2 separate regions of the Homo sapiens genome follow, and region 2 is linked to region 1. The links are contacts of gene promoters, found by promoter capture Hi-C in human tissues and cell types (Jung and others, 2019). All regions are on one chromosome and are shown on one strand. Each heading gives the region's core, a stretch centred on a gene start or on the middle of the fragment in contact. The rest is flanking DNA. Distances are from core to core; before and after follow the strand shown. Region 1 holds the start of HPN (hepsin). Region 2 overlaps ZNF181 (zinc finger protein 181).

Region 1 (4,506 bases), core at 2,007-4,506:
TAACATTCCCCTCCCCCGACAGCCTGCCAATCCTCCTGAGTGACTCTCCTTCCCCCGTTTCCTTCTTTCTCTCCATCTGCACCTTGCTCCGGCCCCATCCAACCGCTGGGCTCAGTCTCCCTTCTAGCGCACCCTCCACACGGAGGCTTGGGGAACCTACTGAGACACCAAATCCAACCTGTCCCCTCTTTACCTATAGAACCCTCTGTGACTCCCTAGTACCCCCCAGACAGCTTAAGTCCCTCAGCCTGGCATTTCCAGCCCCACTAGGGTATAAGCATGGCTTTCAGAGATTTGGGAGTATGTTTCCCCCAATTCTCAGACAACCATGTGGGTCACTATCAGGTACCAGAGAGAGCTTCCAAAAAGCAACCCAAACAGTAGAACTTGTAAAATACAAGTTAGACAAGAGAAGCAGGGACTAACCACTGGCGCCACCTTGTGGAGAGACCTGGTACTGCAAGGAATTGGCCAGCTCTTCCCCAAAACAGTCCCACCCCTGCCTGGTCCAGCTTGCACACCTCTTCTCCCACCCAGCTCAACTTCCAGCTTCACCTCCAGAAATACCACAATTGGCTACGTGCACACCAGTGCTGTGTCACCTCCCAGCTTCCCAGAGAAGAGCAAGAGCCTTGCTCTTCCCTCTGCCTGGCATCCTTGGAATTGCAACTCCAGTATCACCTCCTCCAATTCCAAGTTTCCAGGCAGCACCAAGAAGCCAGCAGCAATAACAGTGACACCAACAACAGCAGCCGCTGCAGCCACAACGGCTCTCTGAATCACACACGGACGCACCGCCCTACCCTAACCCCGTCCAGTCCTGCACAGCATCCTTACTTAAATCCTTGCAGCTGTTCACGAGGAAGGCGCCATTGCCATCACCCCCAGTTTACAGATGAGAAAAGGAGGCCCAAAGTCCGGCAGCCACCAAACCCGGGTCACCCGGCAAGTAAGTGCAGAATCGGAACCCTTCAGCATCTGTGTCCAGGTTCGACCTCCACACCCCTAGCCCTGACAGCAGGACTCCCCTCCAAGACCAGCCCGGAGCTGCCAGGGAGGCACCAGAGCCCACTTTGTGTCTGTTTCTCTTTGTACCCAGGCCATCTCTGTCCATTCGGGCATTTTCTGCTTTTCTTCCCTGGCTCATTCACCCATGGGCCCAAGCCCTGGGGCTGTCCTTCCGGCAGCTCCAGGAAAGAGATTGTCCCCAAGGAGCTGGATTCTGTCATCCACCTGCTCGGCTAGGGTGCAATGCCTTCTCCTGAGTAACTGGGAGCCTGGGTTCCCTCTGGACTGCAGCTGATTGGTTTGGGGTCTGAATTGCCAGCTGTGCCGAGACCCGAGGAGGCCAGAGATCTGAACTAATCATTTCAGCCAACACGCTCAGTGCTTCCTGCCCATCCTGGCATTTCAGGCCTCGCCCCACGCTGTTGGACATGCACTGTCACCCTCTCCATTTCACAGATGAGAGAATGGAGGCCCAGGGAGAACACGCCGTCTGCCCAGGGCCACACAGCTAGAAAGTGCTACTGCCCAGGACTGAGCCCGGCTATCCTGGTTGCGGAAGAAGAGAGGGAGTCAGCCCCAGCTAGGGGAAGGCAGAAAGAACAGGACGCCCCTCCATGCGCCCCTCCAGCTGGGTCCCATGTGTGAGAGGTAGAAAGGAAGCCAGGCTAGCTGGGGGCTGCCCAGAGACTCCCAAGGGCCAGCAACTCCATGACGCAGTCTCTCTCTCTCATCCTTATGGTGGTTTCTCTGCCGTCTCTCCCCTCTCCATCCATCCAGGCCCAGTCCAAAGTCCTCCCTCTGCTCTTTTGCCCACAGAGCCAGGAGGTGGAGGAATGTCTGGGATCGGTGGGGGTCCTGGGTCTCTGGGACTCCGAGTTTGCCAACCTCTGTCATGACAGCTCTGCTTGATGGCATGCGTCTTATATGCAGAGCCCCAGACCAGTGCCTGGTGTGTGTCATGCACTCAGCAACCTCACAGAGGGAGGACTGGTATCCATGCTTGACCCAGAGGGAGACCAAAGCCCTAAGAATAATGTCACTTGCACCAGATCACACAGCAAAAAAGATGGCAAGAGCAAATTCAAATGCAAGCCTGTGTGTTTCACTCCAAATCTGTGTCCTTAACCATGACAGCTACAGCTTCCCCGCCTCAGCCCCAGCAGAGGACAAGTCCAGAGTTAGCTGAGAAATCACTGGGGGATGAGGGGAAACTGAGGCAGCACGCCAGGAAGGTCACATAGGGTAGAAGGGAGGCTGGTGGTGGCACAGCTGCACAGAAAATGTGGTTAATAGTTAATCAGGTGGAGGAGGACTAACAGGGGTGGGGATGCATCTGGGAGGGGTGCCCAGAGAGAGGGGGCTCCGAAGAGTAGAGGGTAGAGAAAAGAGCACAGAGGGCGGGGCGCCAGGCAGAGCCAAAGCTGGGGCTCAGGGAAGGGGACTCACCCTCCTTCTGCGCCATGTCACTGCCTCTTGTTAATGATTCCCTGGCTGACCTCCTGGGCCAGGGTGGGACCTGTGAGGAGATGGACGGGGAGGCAGGGCCTGGGGGAGCCCAGCCCAGCCCAGTCCTGGCGCCCCCAGTCCCAGGCGTCCATCCAGGCAGGCTGTAGGGACTGGGCCTTGGCCAGAGCACGCCGTGATCACGGACGCAGATTGGGCTGGGTTCAAGGATGGGGTCAGTGTCTGACCAGCAGCGGGGGGACGCCTGGATTTGCAGGGATGGGGACCCCCATGCCTGAGCCTGGTGGAGCAGGGGACTGAGGATCCCGGTTTGAGGGAGGAGACAGCTGAGGACCTGAAATCATAAGTCTTGGGAAAGGAGGAATTTGGGGGCCAGGACTCCCTAGTATGAGGGAGGAGGGGCCTGAGGGCTGGAACTCCTGGGTCTGGGGAGGAAAGGACTGGGGTCCAACGGCTGAGTCTGAAGGAAGAGCAGGACAGAACACCTAGGTGCTTGGGGGGACGTCATAGTGCCCCCTCTTCAGGTCCCCAGGAACCCCTCTATTAGGAGGTGGGCATTAGGCTGGGTGGGGGGATGAGGGAACCCCTGTCCTCAGGGCTGGAACTGTGAGTCTGGGGGCCCTTGTCCTTACCCTGGGGTCCAGCAGGTGGGGGCGGAGCCTCGAGGTAGTGCCGGGGTCGGGTCAGTCTCCAGGCCTGGGCAGGAGCATGGTGGCCCCGCAGCAGCGGGCGGCCTGGAGGCAGAGGCGGTGGCGTGGGGCCTGCTAGGCCAGGCTGCCTCACCTGAGGAGGAGGGGGCTGGGCGAGGGGCGGGTGAAGGGGCGGGGAGGGGCCGGACCATTCGATTGGCAGCACTGGAGGCCACCTGGCTGATGGGGCCGGGCTTGTGGGGGCTGGACCAGGCGGGCCCAGCTACGGGGCTTGCCTTGGACCTCCAGGGGGACCCAGGTGTGCCTGTCTGCGGGGATGTGGGAACAGGGACAGGCCTGGCCGGAGGCTGGGGGTTTAGGGAGAAAGTGCAGGCTGAAGGGTGGGGGTCTGACCAGAAGAGATCAGATGGAGGGCCCCAGCTGCCCTAAGCCCACTCCACCCTCACCCAGCGAACCCTTCCCCCCGCCCTTTCTGCGTCCTCCAGCCCCAGGTCCTGGCTGTGCCCGCCACTTGCTGCACCTCTGCCTAATTCCCTGCCCAATTCCTGGGCCCCAACCCCAGCCCCAGCCTCTCCCGCCTGCCCTGCTCATCCTGCCCCGGCCCCTCCCCCGCTGGCTTCCTACAAGTCACGGGGCTGGTTTGCTTTGGCAGCCTCCGCCCGGCCGCGGTGACCTCTGGAGCCAGAAAGTCCTAGCACTAGATAGGGGGGATGGGGGGCTTGGCCGGGAAAACACAGCGCTAAGGGCAGAGGCCCAGGCCAAGTGGCCGGAAGCGTCCGCAGGCAGATAACACACTGTCCCGCCAGCAGCCAGGCGCGGCCCACGTCAGACCCAGGGCCAGGTAAACACCAGACGTGCAGGGTCACCGCCAGACACCTGCCCGTGCTCAACCACACGCCGGACACAGTCGGCCTCGGCTGCTTGCCCCAGATAGGCCACCCGCACAACCGGCCCCACCCGCTTACCCACACGTGCCCGCTGTGCCCAGCCAAACCCACCTCCACCGCACCCATTTCCTCCACTCAGCCCAGGGCCCCTCATTGGGACACGCTGGTTTAGCCTGGCTTCCTCTGCCTTTCCATCCATACCCGTCTCTCCTTCCCTCTCCTTCTCCCCAGCGCCCACCTCTCCAGAGACTCACACTGCTGGGCACACCACACACCCCATGCCACCCCTGCACCCCAGCATCAGCCTCGATTCTCTTCCCTCCACGGCACCCCCTCCCTTCCTGGCTCCGTTCCACTCTCCCTCACCCCTGAGCCCATGGCTCCCCCAACCCCGACACAGATCAGGCACTAAGTGGCTTCACCTGTGGGCCCTCAGGTAGGGTCCCTGGAAAGCGGGCTCGAAGATTCGGGGACGGGAATGGGGGGAAGGTGACGGG
Region 2 (4,881 bases), core at 1,500-3,999, 300 kb after region 1:
CTTTCCACCATTGACTTTCTCATTTTTTATAACTGACTTTTTTGGTAAGTTCTTCTTTAATATATCATATTTGTGTGAATTCCCTTCAGCAGAAATTTTTTGTGGTTCAGAAAGAGTAGACTTTGAATGAAAGGTGCTTCTAAATATATTGTATTTGTAAACACTGTCTGCAGTGGGGCTTTCTCTAGAGGTGAGAATTGCTGGTCTGAAATGGTCTACCTGACTTCCATGCTTCCCTTCCAACTTCTCTATATATTCCAAATTCTTCTTAGAATTTGAAAATTCATAACTTTGTTTTACAACTTTTTCTATTATTACTGTTTGGGGTGAATCTTCATCATAATTATCCTTCTTTGTTGATAATTCCTTGTTTTCCCATCTTGATTCCCAATCTGAAATACATCAAAAAAGCAAAGCACTGTTTTGTTTTTTTTTAACTATTTGAAAAGAAACTTCTAAATTGGAATTAGGAGAACTGGATTAGAAATGAAGCCCCCAGAAAACACATAGTTCTGACAACTGAAATATTTCAATGATTTCTGAACAGTGCTCAAATGGAGCAGAGAATACAGAGTTCACAGAAGTGGGAACACAGTGTGATAATGGAAATGGGAAAAATATATGTAATGGATGAAATAGTATGGAAAAAAAGGAAGTTATCAGAAATAAAATGTGGAAGGCATTCTGGATTCCAAGCCATCATTTTGTGCCTATATGCATGTATGAAAGATTGCATTTTGTCTCATAGCCTTTTTCTCCAACATTCAATTAATCTCAATTTGCTGCCAGATTAACATGCTTAAAATACAGAATTGATGTTATTAAACAGTTGCAGTAAAAACACAATAATCTAAATGCTCTTTATAGCTGACAAAGATTTAGGCTTTCTGAAGTTATGAAGAAACTGTGTGAATCATGTCATTTATTGGACATTAGAAAATATTCCTAGAAACATATTTATATATGTTCATTTTTTCCTCTAATATGTTCATATTTCATCTACAACGCTCAGCTTTAGAAAAGTGATTTCCCATCTAATTGACAGCTTTTCTTAGCCTAAAACTATCAGTATGTTTTTCTTTAAGTAGATTTAAGAAAGAATAATTTGCCTTACTGTTATGAATAGAGTAACAATTGAATTATTATGAAGGCAAAAACCTCTAACCTTGATTGGATGACATGAGTGATACAGATAATAATTTGGGATAGAGGAACAATTGTTTTGAAAATCTAAGCTAAATATCCCACAATTTTTCATTTCTATCTGAGATCTTTGAAAACAGTATACCTAAAATGCCTCCACACTCACTATAAACTCACTATAAAGAGTTTGGGACCCTTTTTAACAAAATCTTCCTTTGTCTCGTTCACCATGACTCACCTGGAATCATACCTTTTGACAGTTTTTTCTCCATCATCCAGGGCTCTTTTCCATCCTCCAATAACGTGATCACATATGGCTTAGTTACAGAAAGACCTGCTTACAGGAAGAATACAGAATTGTTTAAGCCGTGGTCCTCTATTATGAGAGGCCATCACAAGAGGGACCACAGGAAGGGATGAAGGGTATTCATCGAAATGGAAAGATAAGCTTCAGGCAGGGCACAACAGAGCTGCACATTTCCTTGGGAACATGCTACAGAAATTCAGCCATTTACTTAGGAGGGTCTCCAGCAATTCAGGGTGGCAAAAGAAAGGTGTCCCCTACTGGAGTGGAAGGGGTAATATCCTTACCTACAGAGACCAGGTTCTCATAATTCTGGACCATCACATCCTTGTATAAGTCCCTCTGAGCAGAACTGAGCCATCCCCACTCTTCATGAGTGAAGTCTATAGCCACATCATTAAATGTCACCTGAAATAGCAAACATATTTAGGCTCAGCCATAGCCCAGGCCTCTTCTGTCACTGAAGAAAGGGTAAAATTAGCCTGGTTGTGGGAGAAATGGAACAAGATTCAGGAGTTGTGGCAATGATTGGGAATGTGATCTCAGTTAAGTAATAATAGGACAGTTATGTAGTTGGAATTACTATACAATAAGGGGGACAGTTATGTGCTTAGAATTATTATACAATAAAGGTGAGAAACAAATATGAGAGCTTTGCTTCAGTAGAGTTAATTTTGCTAAAAGTTACAGAAATACATGAATTTTTAAAAATCAGCATTTGACATTTGACAGCACAGAGTCAAGTATTTAGTTATATCTTTTACAGCTTAACTGCTAGGTAAGTAATTAAAAAATGAGGGTAAAGTGATTGTCTCTCAAATGGGATACTCAGGATGATCCACTAAGGCTCACAAAAAATGGGCAGCTGGGTGTGGTGGCTCACACCTGTAATCCCAACTACTTGGGAGGCTGAGGCAGGAGAATGGCTTGAACCCAAGAGGCGGAGGTTGCGCCACTGCACTCCAGCCTGGGTAATAGAACAAGACTCTGTCTCAAAAAAAAAAACAAAAACAAAAAAAAAACCTTTATATTAAAGACTAATAGACATACACTGTTATGGTTTGATTGTGACCCCCAAAACGCGTGTATTGAACTTAATCGCCGCTGTAACAGTTTTGAGAGGTGAGACCTTAGGAGATGATTAGGCCTTGAGGGCTCTGCCCTCATGAATGGATTAATGTCATCATCATTAGGAGTGACTTCCTTATTTAAAAAATGAGTTTGGGCCCCTTTTTGGTTCTCTCTCTTCTCTTCGCCCTTCCACCATAAAAGGACACAGCAAGAAGGCCCTTGCTGGATGCCTGCCCCTTGATCTTGGACTTCCCAGGCTCCAAAACCATGAGAAGTCAATTTCTATTACTCAGTCTGTGGTATTCTGTTATAGCAGCACCAATGGACTAAAATATACACATAACTGATTCATAAACAAAAAAGAAAAATATATTTATGGTGTATACTTAAACTTTGTACTGATAGACAATTATTAAAATATGAGACCCCTGGGTGAAAAGACTGAAGGATGGTTTCATGCCATAGATCAGGGGTCCCTAATCCCCTGATGGTTAGGGGTACATAACCACTGGTACCAGTCTGTGGCCTGTTAGAAATCAGGCCACAGAGCAGGAGATGAGTGGCAGGCAAATGACTTTTATCACCTGAGCCCTGCCTCCTGTCAGATCAGCTATGGCATTAGACTCTCATAGGAGCGCAATCCCTACTGTGAAGTGCGCATGCAAGGGATTAAGGTTGCACGCCCCTTATGTGAATTGAACTAATGCCTGATGATCTGAGGTGAAACAGTTTCACCCCCAAACCACCACCTCCTGCTTCTGTGGAAAAACTGTCTTCCACAAAACCGATCCCTGGTGCCAAAAAGGTTGGGCACCACTGCCTTAGATAGTCCTTAAATAAGACCTGAAAGTAAAGGGAAAAAAATAAAGGGGTACGTTTCAAAGAAAATAAGGAAATGTTCACAGATGTGGCTTAGAAATTCCTTTCAATAGTACTCATTTCACAATATTACTTTTTAGTAAAACTTTGGAAGCTTAAATATTCAATAATAGTTTATTGGCTAGTCAAATTATAATATGTACAAAAAATACATCTATTTAATACAGCATTATTACTGTCTTTGATTTGTGAAACAGACTGCTTGCCTGTGGTAATTTTTTAGCTCTGAGAGTTAATTCAGCATTGTATTACATTATTTGGATATTTTGCATGCATGTTCACCAGTGATACTCGTCTTTGGTTTTAAAGGCAGAATTTATTTTTGCCAGGTGTTGGGAAAATAATTAAAATTCAAATCTCCTGCCAATGGCAGAAAATCCTCTCCACAAATGTAGAAAAAAAGAACACAGTTTTATTACTTAATAATCACTAAATCAACTGTGATGCACTTCACAGGCAATCCACTAATGAGATTAAAAGGACAGGAAGAAATCTCTTTTTTATAGCCAAGCAGATACAATCCAATACATACATTTTCCAAATAATCAAGTAAGACCTTACAGTTCAATTTGCTACACATAATTTATCCTAAATTCACCTGTTAATTGGAGTTGCCACTGTGTTAGTTAATTCCCTTTATCCCAAATCAAAAAAACATTTCTCATAGCTTTATGATGAACAGGTTATTACAAGTTAGAGCCAGGGATGCTTCCTTCTTCCCCTTCAGTTGTCTGGGCAGCCTGGGGTGTTCACTCATCTCTGTCCCCAAAAGAACATAGCCTATCTGTCCTGGCATTTATTTTAATTTCTTATGCTTTCTTACTTTTCTACCAGTGCTGCAATCCTCAATACAGTAGCCACTAGGCAATTTGGCTACATACATTTAAATTAATTAAAATGTAAAAATAAAATAAGTAAAGTTTAAAATTCAGTTTCTCAGTTGCTTAAGCCACAGTTCAAGTACTCAATAGTCATACAGGGCTGGTGGCTACTGTACTGACCAGTACACATGCAGAGCACTTCCACCACTGCAGAAAGTTCTCTTAGACAATACTGCACTAGATCATGAAGTCCTGTGTGTCAGTGTACACCAAAATCCATGTACAACTTTTCCTAACAGATACTTCCTAAGTGTTTAGAAGATGAACCAATGAATGATTTTGGCATTAGTTCACTTTAGCTGTTACTTTTTTCTTGCTCTGCCGCCAGGCTGGAGTGCAGTGACATAATCATAGCTCACTGCAGCCGCACACCACAGGGTTCAAGAAATTTTCTCAACTCATCACCCTCCCGAATAGCTGGAAAAACAGGCATGTACCACCACACCAGTTTTTCAATTCTAATTATCTAACTTCTCCAAGAAAACAGACTTCACCCAACATGTACATCTGCTACTCACATCCCCTCCTATGCAAGCTTCACCTTCCATGCCATGATTCTGCCCCACCAGTTCGTCATTACTCATCTTATTCACTCCACAATTA

The links. The method cuts DNA at HindIII sites, captures the fragments that hold promoters and counts their contacts. A contact is called where the count stands out against the background at its distance.
Region 2: a fragment that was not itself captured here is called in contact with the fragment with the promoter of HPN in region 1 in 1 of the 25 tissues and cell types used here (pancreas).

Annotation. Positions count from the first base shown.
Region 1 is chr19:35,040,471-35,044,976 of GRCh38, reverse strand. It overlaps HPN (hepsin), which reads right to left and starts at 3,256. Exons shown (of 13, transcript NM_001384133.1): 1 at 3,105-3,256; 2 at 2,455-2,524. The coding sequence starts at 2,470. RefSeq lists an enhancer at 3,785-4,506. The HindIII fragment of the contact is 10,578 bases long and covers 1-4,506 here.
Region 2 is chr19:34,736,122-34,741,002 of GRCh38, reverse strand. ZNF181 (zinc finger protein 181) reads right to left here. Exons shown (of 4, transcript NM_001029997.4): 2 at 1,735-1,855; 3 at 1,382-1,480; 4 at 1-392. Among named protein-coding and RNA genes, the nearest start is that of ZNF181, 4.3 kb to the right of the region's middle. The HindIII fragment of the contact is 4,437 bases long and covers 531-4,881 here.